Regions from separate parts of the Homo sapiens genome. Here region 1 is linked to region 2. Evidence: promoter capture Hi-C in human tissues and cell types (Jung and others, 2019). All regions are on one chromosome and are shown on one strand. The core of a region is centred on a gene start or on the middle of the fragment in contact, and the rest is flanking DNA. Distances in the headings are between cores, read along the strand shown.

Region 1 (6,597 bases), core at 2,868-5,367, 1.1 Mb before region 2:
CAGAAATTGTATTAGGCCCTTGGGACTCACATACACATAACCCAGATTCTTCTCTTAAAGGGTTCAGAGCAACATAAAGCATGAGATGTATGATAATGCAGACTCATGGTTCTTGAACTTTTAATCTTGAGTCTCCTATTCAGAATTATTGAGATCCCCAGAAAGTTTTTGCTTCTTTGAGCTTTATCAATATTCATTTTAACAATTTAAAAATATGTATTAACTAAAAATAATAATATATATTAACATAAATATATGAACATTTTCAAAAACAGTGAAAAGAATGGCATTATTTTAGCTGTATTCAAATCTTATGAATGTCTGGCTTAATAGAAAATGGCTGGATTTCTATTTCTACTTCTGCATTTAATCTATTACAATATCACGTGTTATGGAGCTTCTGGAAAACTCTGCTATACACAGAATGAAAGTGAAAAAGGTAAATAACATTTAGTGTTGATATGAAAATAGCTTTGACCTTGTGGACTCCCTGAAAGGGTCTTGAGAGCCCCTACAGGTGCCGAGACCATACTGTGAGAACCTCTTGCTGTAGATCATCCCAAGTGCTCAGGAGCCATTGAAAAGACATGTAACTCACTCTTTGGGCATCAAGGGGGACTTCCTGGAGGAAATCACAGGAAATTGAGCCCTGACAGATAAGTGTAAGTGATTCAGAAAAAGAATAGAGGGGACTAAGAGGAGCAGAGAATGGCATTCCTAAAATGAAGCCCAAGAGAGAACAGCTTATTCTGAGAACTCTCAAGTAGCTGATCCTGGCTAACTAACACTCAAAAGACAAATACGAAACACTTAGAAATGAGGTTGCAGAGTCTGGCCAGGAGCTAGGCCACAGACAACATGCTCTGTAGTTTGTACTTTATCCTGAAGACAATGGAATGGTCATTAAAGTTTTGATGCAGAGTGTGAGAGAATCTGATTGGCTTCTTAGAAGACTCACTCTGGCTGCAGTGTGGAAAATGATTGCCAGTTGAAAGGCTGAGAGCAGAGAAGCCAGTTAAAAGGCTGCTATAGCACTCTGAAGAAGTTGATAAGGCTAAACTAAAGCAGCTCAGTGGACATGGGCAGAACCTGCTAGGTTATAGAGAGTACTCAAAGGTAGAATGGACAGGACTAATTGGATTTGATGGATGATGAGAAAGATGTTAGAATCTGGGATGACTGCCAACTTTCTATTTTGGTTGGAGGTACCATTCCCTGAAAGAGGAAATACAAAATTCAGAAGGAGAATTTTTTCCAGTTTTTCTTGAAGCATTACAAAAATAGTTTTGCAGGAAGATCATGAATATGATATTATGTATCATAAATTTGGTTTCTCAACTTAATCAGTTGAAGCATTTAATAAGACAGCTAGTTGTATAAGCCTGGAACTCTACAGCAAGATCTAGTAAGAGAAAGCAACATACAGGGTGTACTAAAGACCATGGGCACAGATGAGATAGCCTAGGAACAGTACGTAAAGGGAAGATCCACCTGTGTCATCTACATTATGAGGCCCAAGAATGCAATGCACTCAACTTTGTTCACTCTGTCCGTCATTCTGTTGTCTATCTCAATGATTCTGACACTGGCTGTGCCTCAAAATCAACTGTGAAACTCTTTAAACATAAACAGAATTCAGAGAAAAGGGATTTCCTCAAAGTCTCTCAAGGATAGAAAGATAAAGAGCCAACAGCTGCAGAGCACTGGAAACATTTAGTGTTGATCTTGGGAAAGAAAGTATTTGCTGCCACTTTGTGACAAGCTTGCAAGATCTGGTAATAACCAGGAGACAGGATGTTCTAACAGGAAGTACTGTGGCTTGGGAGAGACAGATTCTACTTGTAAAATGAGGGCATTGAGCTGAATGATTTTTCATGCCTTCTGACTGTTAACATCTGAGGTTCTTGCATATAGAGCTTCCTTCAAAGCCTGAGACATTCAGACAACTTGCCCCTCTTCCAATTAGGGAACTGATCTTTGGAGTCTTCCACATACCCTCCCAATGCCTTCTACTCCATTCACTATATCTATCCTTCAAGATCAAGCTCAAATGCTCCTCTCCCAACAAATCATCCCAATCTATTGCTGCCTTTCCAATACACTTTCTCAATCTTCGTATATTTAGCAATCAGGGGTTTGAGGGACAGTTCAAAACCTATTACAGGCCCTTCCTTTTTCATCCCTTAATATACTGTAATGAATCTACCTCTAGGTAAAGAGTTCTGTAAGAATTATTATTTATAAGCATATAATTATAAATATGTATTATAAATACAGTCGGCCCTCCATATCTGTGGGTTCTACATCCGTAAATTCAACAAAGCTTGGATTGAAAATATTTTCTTTAAAATGGATGGTGACATCTGTACTAAACATGTATAGACTTTTTCTTCTTGTCATTATTCTCTAAACAATACAGTATAACAACTATCTACATAGCATTTACATTATATTAGATATTACAAGTAACCTAGTGATAATTTAAAGCATACACAAGGTGTGTAGGTTATATGCAAATACTATACAATTTACATAAGGGACTTGAGCATCATTGATTTTGATATCCACAGGGGGTCTTGGAACGAATCCCCCACGGATACTGAGGAACGACTGTATGTATAAATACCAATTATAAATAAATAAGTATATATTATTCATAAGGTTGTTGTGTGACAAAATTATAAATTAGAATGTTGTTTGTATTTGTCTGAACACACATGCATAGCATAAATTTCCCTATATAAACTTCCTAAGATGTCAAAGAAGTACATTAACTAAAATTATTGGGCCACTTAGAGGAGAATTATCTCTAATACAATTCAAGAATCATCTGACAAGGCAGGAAGACAAGGCAGAGTCTTACAGAGAAGAGGGTGCAGGAACCTGGGGTGGCCATCACAGGTCCCACGAAGGGCGAAGAGCACCCTTAACCACTGTGGGTGAGAGTTGTATGGGAGGCTGAAGCTCCATGATAACCAAGGTGGCTGAAGGTGGAAGGAAAAAACAAGGTGGTGGCATTTGATGTCAAAAGACCAGTCATCTCTATACAAGGAGCTGCTAAGACCTGACCCTTCCCCCCCCACAGTACTAATAATGAGAACAACAATAACAACCACAAGAGCTAACATTTATTGAGTGTTTACTACATGCCAGGTACTATTCTGAGCTCTTTACACATTTTAAGACATTTAATCATGACTCTCTGTGGCAGATATGATTTTTAATTCTCCTTTGCAGGAGGAAACTGGAGCACGGAGAGGTCAAGTCACCTGCTTACAATAGCACAGGTATTGTAACACAGGTGATAAGCTGAGACATGGTTTACACAATATGGCTCCAGAGCCCACATTCATAGTCACCATGCTTCACAACCATCCAGCACCAAAGAATGCCCTCACCCATTAATATGCATTCCCCCAGAAATCTCTTACTATGAATGTATCTTTTCCTTTACTGTGGAGTTCCATCTACTAATTTTCTGAATATTCATCCTTTTGGTACCATGAGCAAGGTGGTTTTGGAAGTTCTTCCCAGCCATGTTTCCCTTGTATAAAAGTGTGTCTAGAAAGTGAAATGGGCACAGATATAATTCTTCATGGACCCTACATCCTATTAAGAAGACTCTGGTCAACAGTCTTCTTAACAGGAATAAATACAATGGCATGCACCAAACAATATAAAACTTTAGATGTAATAAGGATAGGATAAGGAAAATAGCTTTAATGAAACTTTGTGAGGTGAATGTGATTACTACACTACAGAATCCAGCCTGAAACTTTATTTATTTATCTATCTACCTATCTATTTATTTATTTATATGGAGTCTCGCTCTGTCACCTGGGCTGGAGTGCAGTGGTGCAATCTCGGCTCACTGCAAACTCCGCCTCCCAGGTTCAAGCAATTCTCCTGCCTCTGCCTCCTGAGTAGCTTGGACTACAGGCACCTGTCACCACACGCAGCTAATTTTTATATGTTTAGTAGAGACAGGGTTTCACCATGTTGGCCAGGCTGGTCTTGAACTCCTGACCTCAAGTGATCCACATGCCTCAGCTTCCCAAAGTGCTGAGATTACAGGTGTGAGCCACTGGGCCTGGCCTGAAACTTTACTTTAAAAGACTACCGATAGTCTTCTCTATGCTATAGAAAATAAATCAAAAGCAAAAGTATTTCTGTTAGCTCAACTTGTCAGTTTTATTTTGGGGCTCAGGTAGGAAGAAAAAAGAGTATTAGATCTCCAATTATGACTCCCTCCCCACCCACACACACATACGCCTTTCTCAAGCAAGTAGTACTAGTCTCTAGACAAATCCAAAAATATGAGTATCATCTATAAATGACACCTTTCCAGTTTTTCTTAAAGCATTAAAAAAAGAAAATACAACTTCCTTTATTCCTAGACAAAACATGAAGGTAAATAGTAAAGCCACTGGGCTTCCTAAAAAGCAATGCACTGAGCCTCATCAACCTGAGAATGGAAAGCGTATGAAGCAGATATTACAGGCAGCACCTTTCCTGGATAAAGTTGCTTAATCACCATGCAAAATTCAAGCCTATCATTCTTAGATAGAAAATTCTATAACCTCAGACAGGGCCTGACATCATGAGTGACCTTGAAACAGAACCCACACTCTTGAAATGATTTCCCCCCATATTGTCTGAACAGAGCACAAGCCTCAGTGCTGATGGGTAATTTTAAGGCATCACAATGACAAGTCTGCCAAGGCAAATGTTTTTAACTGCTTCACTTAGCTGACCTTATTTGCCATAAATTCAGGCTAATCCATATCTAATTCTTACTGGGTAACTCACTTGTTTACTGTCACCACTGGCCCTGGTCTCTTGGCATCTTATAAACTCTAGCCAGGCCCCAAATTCCTCAAGGATGTCTGGCTCTTGTCATATTACAGTGCTAGGAATGCAGCATGAATGGCTCATTCCTCCAGGCTCGTTAATGTCACAGCCTCACATTCACTTACCATTAGGATCTTCTAAGGGAAACTTGAGTTCACCCAAAGTTCCAAGGAACACAAAGTCAGCCATGTTGAAGTGATATACGCCAAGGAATATTGTACAAAGAAATGAGTGCTTCTCTTAGTTATTCCTCACAGTTAGTCTCTCATAAAATTTCAGAACAGAAAAGTATTTATAGGTCATTCAATTCTATTCCTTTATTAATATTTATTTTTTAAAACTGAGGCTTGCGAGGTTACATTTCCAAGGTCACGATGCTACTTAGGGGCAGAATTAAGGTTCTTACCCTAGTTATTTCTAATATATATGGTGCTAATTCCCTAGATTCATAGGAAAAGTCACAATAATAATAAAACTAATATTTATGTAGCCTTTAGATTTACAATGACCCCTTTGCTCTTTGTAGTTTCATACAATAATCTGAGCAAAGGCATGACAAACATAATTAACATCTCATTTTGAAGACTAGAAGACTTATACAGTAAGCTTTAAGTGACTTATTCAAGTTTTCATAATTAAAATGAGGGATTGTGAACTGAGCCCAATGTTTAAGTTCTATATCCTTGAGTAAATTACTAACTTCTGTCTCTTCTAATTTATAAAATGAAAATATAATGTAACAGTGTCTGCATCAAGGAAGAATTTTTTTCTTGAGAATTAAATGAAGTGATGTACTAAGTGAATAAACCCCTTAGCATTCTGCCCGACAGTTTGCAAGGGGACAAGAAATAACAAAGTTTTGTTTTGTATTTAAATTGTTATTTTTCTGAAACATCCTACCAGCAACACAAAATTATGACTTCGGGATTAAAGATAAAGAATAATTCACTAAAGTTCCAAGAATCATTTTAGTTGAATTTAAAAATGCAACGCTAAAAAAATAAATAAATAATAAAAACGCAATGTTGAGTTTATCCATCTTTTGAGTTTCATCACGATAGTAATATTTGCCATCAAATGCAGTTAGGCACTGTTATCATCTTAATACAAGATATTATTGCATCATAACCTTTCCATACGAAGAAAATTACAAAGAACTATTTTCACCTTGATGTTTAAAGCTGCAAACAAAAGGGCAGATCATCTTCCGTATATATTGCAGAGGCCAACAGCCATATGCAGTGACTGGATACAGCCTCACGGTGGTGCTAAATCATCACTGATAACAACTCAAGACCCATTGAAAGCTCTACAGAAACCAAACTGAGGCAGGACTGAAACATTCCTAATGTTAAACAGCAAGGAATTTGCTTTGGATCCCTACGGTTCTTCTGGACCAACCTTGCGCAATGATCCTGACATGTCTCAACAAATCCATTAGCAATGTTAATATACAGTTTTTGTCCTGGCATTGCAACAAATAAAATATACACAAAAGATTTTTATTATCCTTAAAAAGAATTGTGCAGCCTTACCTTTTAAAATGTTATGTTGACTTAGAATTCCCAAACTGGATTTGGGCCCCATTCATCTACTGTGTATCTTAAGTTTATGTATGCCTTGGAGACATTTGTTAAATTCCTTATATCTCCCAGCCCCCAAATTTCAGCTTGAAATTTCAACTCTTTTTGACTCCTTTCCTCTTCTACTCTCCTATTTAAAACAGCCACAAAATTTTATCAATTT
Region 2 (7,013 bases), core at 3,534-6,033:
CTGGATATACAGATGAGGGGTATATTTTGCCACTAAATTATCCTGTAGAAGGTAAGTATTGATATTTCTCTCTGTCCATAGAAGCTGGAAGTAGTTGCTGCCCTGGATCTTCTCAGTGTGTCCTTTCAGATCCACTCTCCATCCTTCTATATCCTATTCTGTGTCCCAGGAGGCTTTTTTTATGTACTGAATCAACCCTTACTCTAACTTCCAGCTGGGTGTAGCCAATGAGAGAAATGGCAGACAATCAAAGCTAGGAGGAGAGGGAAAACAGGCTGCAGTTTGGCAGAGGCTGCATTTCTCTATGGAAGGTCACAGGTCCTGTCAAGTGTGACCCACAGTTCTTGCTGGTTCTTGAAGAAAACTATTCCTTCCTCTTACCCCTTCAGAATGGTAACTGCTTCCTGTTGTTGCTAGCCCTGGGTCCTTCACTATCCCCTGATGGTTTTCCTTAACCTTTCACATACCTGGTTAATGATCCCTTCATTCAACCTTCTTTCAACTCTCTTATTCTCGTCACTTACTTTCTTTCTTTCTTTCTTTTTCTCTCCTTCCTTCCTTCCTCTCTCCTTCCTTCCTTCCTCTCTTTCTCTCTCTTTTCTTCTCTTTTTTCTTTTCTTTTTTAGATGGAGTCTTGCTGTGTCACCCAGGCTGAAGCGCAGTGGTTCAATCTCAGCTCACTGCAACCCTCACCTCCTGGGTACAGGCGATTCTCCCACCTCAGCTTCCCCAATAGCTGGGATTATAGGCACAAGCCACCACGCCCGGCTACTTTTTGTATTTTAGTAGAGATGGGGTTTCACCATGTTGGCCAGGCTGGTCTCGAACTCCTGAGCTGAAGTGATCTATCTGCCTCGGCTTCCCAAAGTTCTGGGATTACAGATGTGAGTCACCGTGCCCGACCTTCTTTCTTTTTTCAGTAGAGATGGGGGTCCCACCATCTTGCCCAGGCTGGTGTCAAACTCTTGGGCTGAAATGATTCTCCAGCCTCAGCCTCCCAAAGTGCTGGGATTACAGGCATGAGCCACCACCATGCTCAGCTTCTCTTCACCTTTTGAAAGTGTGCCATCTGTTTTCTGTCAAGACAACTGCTTAGACAATTTTTCCAAGCCAAAATTATATCTGCCACTGTATAGAACTTTAGGAACCTAATTTTTTCATTTATGTGTTATAGTAGACAAAACTACTTTTTCAGAAATCCTTAAATCCACCTTCATATATAACCAGCATAGCTATTCATCCAAATGCACGTCCTAATTTGGCCTTTCCCTTTTCAATATACAGTGTAACCTCCCTGTTTGCTCTTTTGATCTCTAAATCACAGTGTCTTGGTCAATAATATAAAATACCCTACTCCACAAGCCCTTGCCATGGACTAAACCTTGAACGATCCCATGGTTCAACACTTCTCAAAAGCCCAGTTGAGAAAATTGATTAGGATTAAGTGAAGTACACAAAGTTCATGCATTAATCTCTAGTAGAGTAGGACCGTCACATTAGTATATTTAGACCATATTACATCTGAAGGCTTGCTTTTATTGTGGGGTTATATCAAGGGATTCTGATTTTATCAAGGAACAATTAAAGAAATTGCCCTAGAAAATCTGATACTACATTTGCTGTAGGGACATAGTTTAGTATATTTCTCACTGTCTCCTGTGCTTAGTACTTGGGGTCATAGTTAGGTGTCTTCCACAAAAAAATTTTCTCACCCTCTTTGTTCGAGTTCTCATTTACCAAGCAACATCCTGATTTCTGTGTTACTCTCTCTACATAAAAATAATATGCTGGTCATACCGATTTTGAGTATTTCTCATAGTTAATTAATAAAGAGACTTCTGAATATGATCTAGCTTCCTATGCTTCACCACAGGGGGAAACATGCTGACCATGCCCTATGTGAGAATTTCTACTCCATGTCATGGCAATATTTCTTGTTGTAAATGACTAAATTAGTATTCTGGTTCTACCCCAATCTAATGTGCATTTTAGTTAATGTTAACCAATTTCTCAGAACCTGGTTATTATTTTTTTTTTCAAAAAAAAATAAATCTCTGGGCTTTAAACTAGAAAAAAAAATATCTGGGCTTTAAACTAGAGGGCTAGATACTGTCTTCCCTAAGATAAGATACCTACCTCTTCCAGTTGCACTTGTTTTTTTTTGGTTTTTTTTTGTTTTGTTTTGTTTTGGTTTTTTTTTGAGACGGAGTCTCGCTCTGTTGCCCAGGCTGGAGTGCAGTGGCGCAGTCTCGGCTCACTGCAAGTTCTGCCTCCTGGGTTCATGCCATTTTCCTGCCTCAGCCTCCCGAGTAGCTGGTACTACAGGTGCCCGCCACCACGCCTGGCTAATTTTTTGTATTTTTTAGTAGAGACTAAAAATGGTTTCACCGTGTTAGCCAGGATGGTCTCCATCTCCTGACCTCGTGATCCACCCACCTCAGCCTCCCAAAGTGCTGGGATTACAGGCATCAGCCACCTCGCCAGGCCTGCACTTGTATTTATTAACATATCCTATATAAAGTCTCAGGTAAGAGGCTCAGCTGAGAGCTAAATCTGAGGAAAAGCTCTGCTTATCCCTAGAACTATGAAATAGATTATACTGCCCTTCCCTATCCTCTCCTATTTACAACCAGGAAGCTTAGCATCAACTCTAAGGAATCTTTTAGAAATGGTTCTCAAACTTTTCATGTTTGTGAAATACTTTGAATGCCAGAATTTAGGGCAGCCAACTTAAATGAATTAAAGAAGGTAAAATAACACTAAATTAGTTATTGTACCATCTCAGAGGACATAGAACCCATCCACAATTAATCCCCTATCCATATGGTACACTTTCAGCATTGTAGGTGTTTGAGAATTATCTCTGCTCAATGATTTCTCATACAATGACAAGGCAAAGCTCTCTCACATTCCAGTGAACCACCATCTTCTTGTAAAGCCAACTTAATGCTATGCTTTGCCTTTAGTTCCAACTTGAAACAAATTGTACAACCTACAGCACCTCAATACTACATACAATGAACATAATTGTTTTATAACAAAAATTAAAGTTATACATTTGTGAAAATTTTGCTGCATACTATATCATCTCAGCACTCCAGTTGAGAACCACTGTCTTACCTGTTTTCAATTTCCCCCATTGTGGCTTACTGACATAATTCTAGTTTCTTTATTTCTAATGCTTTAATTCACATTTTACTATTTTATTGCATGCATGTCCTTCCTTCTTAAATTATTTGCAGAATGAAACTAAGTGTTCAAAAAATAAAATACAGAAAGGAAATGCTGTCTTTGGTGGCCACTCTCTATAGCCTTCTGCAAATAGAAGTAAAAAATAAGTGAGCCACAGCCTATTACAGTACCTACAGCAATGTCCACGAGATCCTCACTCAATAGGAGGGTTTAAAGTAATTAGTGATTTTTGAGAAGCTAACCATTACCATCCATACTCCATCTATTCTACTCACAGGAAGGGTTTCCCAATTTGTTAAAGAAACCCTCTCTGTAGAAAGATCTCTGCGAACCACATAACCTATTCTCTATAGACCTCCCTATTTCCTGCAGCCACATACAAATGGACACCAAAGTCTTTTCTTATTCTGGGACATAGCTAATGGTTTGTATGTCAAAGTTTCTTTCAGGCCTGTAAAATCTGAATCTGAGAGCCGGAGAGAAAAGAGACTCAGTAGTTATAATGACATAAAGGTGCAGACATGAAGCAATTCAACTTGTCTGTGCTTTGCAGACAAATGTCAACAACTGTTGGAATCCCTGCAATGCAACAATCAGAGATCATGTGAGATTTTGCTTTCTGTTTTTACTAAAAGTGTAAACCTGGCTGCAAGATAACCAGCAAACAAGCAGCTTCGATTTTGTGTACAAAGGACTGTTGATTATGCATGGACTATTTTCTTCAGTCACACTACTTTGTATGGATAGCAACACTGTCAGTGATGTCATCTTTTTAAACAACAGATCCGAATGTATAGGCACATTGTGTCAACTGAGCCCAAATCAATGACCTGGGTAATGCAATCAGGGTAACACTATTATTCCTCATCTAAACCATCCAAGCCCATAGACAAATAAATGCTAATCTGATGCATGTTTAAGGAATACGTTACATGGGAAAGAAAATCAAGCCCTTGTTTAGTTTTATTTACATTCTAATATGTACTTCCAGAAAATGCATCACAGAATTTACGTCATATGCATCAGAATAAGCTGTTTTATTTTTGTATTAGTAGCGGGCTAAGTTATTAACAATCATACTTTCTTGGATAAGAACATTTTTAACAAGGATATCTTCTAAAGAATGTGTATTCGTATAGCATACCAATACCTTTTCACAACTGTGGAATCAGAATAATTTATGGCATTCCCGATAGAGGAGGCAGCATTGTTTTTATTGATTGGAATAAGGAAAATTTTGAAGGATGTATATATAGCTTTTAGTTCCATCTCCGCTTGCTTTATGATTCGATTATTTGTTTACTTACTTTCATATGGGCATAACATGAATTTAAATCAAGCAGATTTAAAATTTTTCAACAGTTGGAACCTAAGCTTTCTGAGGTGAAAAATGTTTCTTAAAAGGTTTGTAGGAAAGAGATTTAACGAGTCTTTTCAATCGTTTAATAAAAGTATACACTGAGCGCCTTCTACAGAGTTGGGCAGGTGCTGCCGAGAAGCTTAGCGCTACGCCGGCCTCCAAGACCGCACATCCGGGACATTCGAGAGTCAGTCCGAGGCCCCGCCCTCCTAAGGGCGGGGCCACTGGGCAATCGGCGCAGGCCCTTCGTCGTGCCCCGCCTCGTCTGCCCCGCCAGCGCGTCGAGGGAGGGGCCAGCGACACATGGCCTAGTAACTGTCCGGCCGCGGCGCTGGCTTAAGCCATGGCTGAGGGTAGCCGGATTCCTCAGGCCCGGGCGCTCCTACAGCAGTGCCTGCACGCCCGGCTGCAAATTCGCCCAGCCGATGGGGACGTCGCGGCCCAGTGGGTGGAGGTAACGTCAGCCCGGCAGCTCTCGTTATCCTCCGGCGTGCGGGGCGGTTTTTTCCGCGTTGTCTCGGTGACTCGTCCGCTCTGTGTCTCCCTCTGAGACCGGCGGTCCGGCCGCGGGGATACCGGGTCAGCTTGAAGCTGGCCGCGGTGGCCTGCCTGGCTGCGCTTGTCTTTTCGGTCCAGCATCACCGTTCCCCAGCGCCAGTTGTAGCACCCGAGAGGAAGAGCGTGTCTCCCTTCTTGGGGGGACCACAGGTATTTGAAACTGAGTTCGGTGAACTTCAGGCCTTACTGTCTCAGACCCCTTGCAGCTCGTGGTCTATGCTGGTCGGGGGCAAGCTTGTAGGTCAGGTTTGCTGCAAGAGTTCATGATCTGCTTTGACTTACGCCTCAGATCGCGTCGAATTCCCCCCTATGTTGACTTGGTCTTAGCATAGAAATGAGATTTCCTAAGAAACAATTCTATTTCAAGAAGCCTTTTAAAAGTTTTGACCAATTTCCAACTGAGAAACAAAGACCTCTACTTTTATAACAATGTTGCCTTATCAAACACATTTCTCCAAAGAATTTAAAACATTTATGTCACTATGAGTTCCTTCTACTTTCATACATACTTTACTTTTTAAGACCGCCTGCCCCCACTGCATACAAAAACAAATAAAATTTTCTTTAAGGCCTCTGACGTATTTTTGGAGTACGTTGAAATGTAAGAAAAAAATTAGTTCATAATTAAGACTTTTGTAGATACTCAGAAACTTCAGTGTAGCAAAATCTCATTCGCTCGCCTTTTCTGCTGAATTCGGTCCCAGATCTAGCATTACTTAAAACAATTTTAGTTATTATTTTACATTTATTTTATTTTTTATATTTTATTTATTTATATTTTATTTTATTTTTTGAGATGAATTCTCGATCTGTCGCCCAGGCTGGAGTGCAGTGGCACGATCTCGGCTCACTGCAACCTCCGCCTCCCGGGTTCAAGCAATTTTCCTTCCTCAGCCTCCCGAGTAGCTGGGACAACAGGCGCAAGCTACCACGCTAACTTGTATTTTTAGCAGAGACGGGGTTTCGCCATTTTGGCCAGGCTTGTCTGGAACTCCTGACCTCAGGTGATCCACCTGCCTCAGCCTCCCAAACTGCTGGGATTACAAGCCTGAGCCACCGCACCCCGCCTACTTATTGTAAATAGTACCCGTGAACTATATGATGTGTGGGTGATTATTCTAAAATCAGAATCTGTTGCCCTGTGCTAATTTGGAAATATAAGCATAGAAATTCCTGTATTCTTATCTCTCTCCTTTCCCAGAAATTCACTTTTCTTATTTCTTATTTTTGTCATGATTTTTTGTGAGGTCTTGATTTCCTTATTTGAAATTTTATTATTTTATTTTGCCATCCTATCTAAAGAATTAACCTGCCAGGCGCGGTAATCCCAGCACTTTGGGAGGCCAAGGCCGGCGGATCACTTGAGGTCAGGAGTTTGAGACCAGCCTGGCCAACATGTTGAAATCCCGTCTCTACTAAAAATACAAAAATTAGCCGGGCTTGGTGGCGGGCACCTGTAATCCCAGCTACTCGGGAGGCTGAGGCAGGAGAATCTCTTGAATCCGGGAGGCAGAGGTTGTAGTGAGCCAAGATCACGCCACTGCACTCCAGCCTGAGCCACAGAGTGAAACCTCATCTCAAAAATAAATAATAAATAAAATAATTATCCTTTTTTTTTTTTTTTTTTTGAGACAGAGTCTCACTCTGTCACCCAGGCTGGAGTGCAATGGCGCAATCTCGGCTCACTGCAACCTCCGCCTCCCGGGTTCACGCCATTCTCCTGCCTCAGCCTCCCAAGCAGCTGGGACCACAGGCGCCCACCACCACGCCTGGCTAATTTGTTGTATTTTTACTAGAGACGGAGTTTCACCGTGCTAGCCAGGATGGTCTCGATCTCCTGACCTTGTGGTCCGCCCACCTCGGCCTCCCAAAGTGCTGGTATTGCAGGCTTGAGCCACCGTGC

What was found. Contacts are between HindIII fragments. The study calls those that stand out against the background at their distance.
Region 1: a fragment that was not itself captured here is called in contact with the fragment with the promoter of DTD2 in region 2 in 1 of the 25 tissues and cell types used here (dorsolateral prefrontal cortex).

Annotation. Positions count from the first base shown.
Region 1 is chr14:32,559,975-32,566,571 of GRCh38, reverse strand. The region is part of intron 4 of AKAP6 (A-kinase anchoring protein 6); the gene reads right to left. Among named protein-coding and RNA genes, the nearest start is that of AKAP6, 230 kb to the right of the region's middle. The HindIII fragment of the contact is 4,148 bases long and covers 2,044-6,191 here.
Region 2 is chr14:31,455,276-31,462,288 of GRCh38, reverse strand. It overlaps DTD2 (D-aminoacyl-tRNA deacylase 2), which reads left to right and starts at 4,783. Exons shown (of 3, transcript NM_080664.3): 1 at 4,783-5,006. The coding sequence starts at 4,896. RefSeq lists enhancers at 4,619-4,798, 4,939-5,148, 4,593-5,178, 5,179-5,764. The HindIII fragment of the contact is 4,347 bases long and covers 3,603-7,013 here.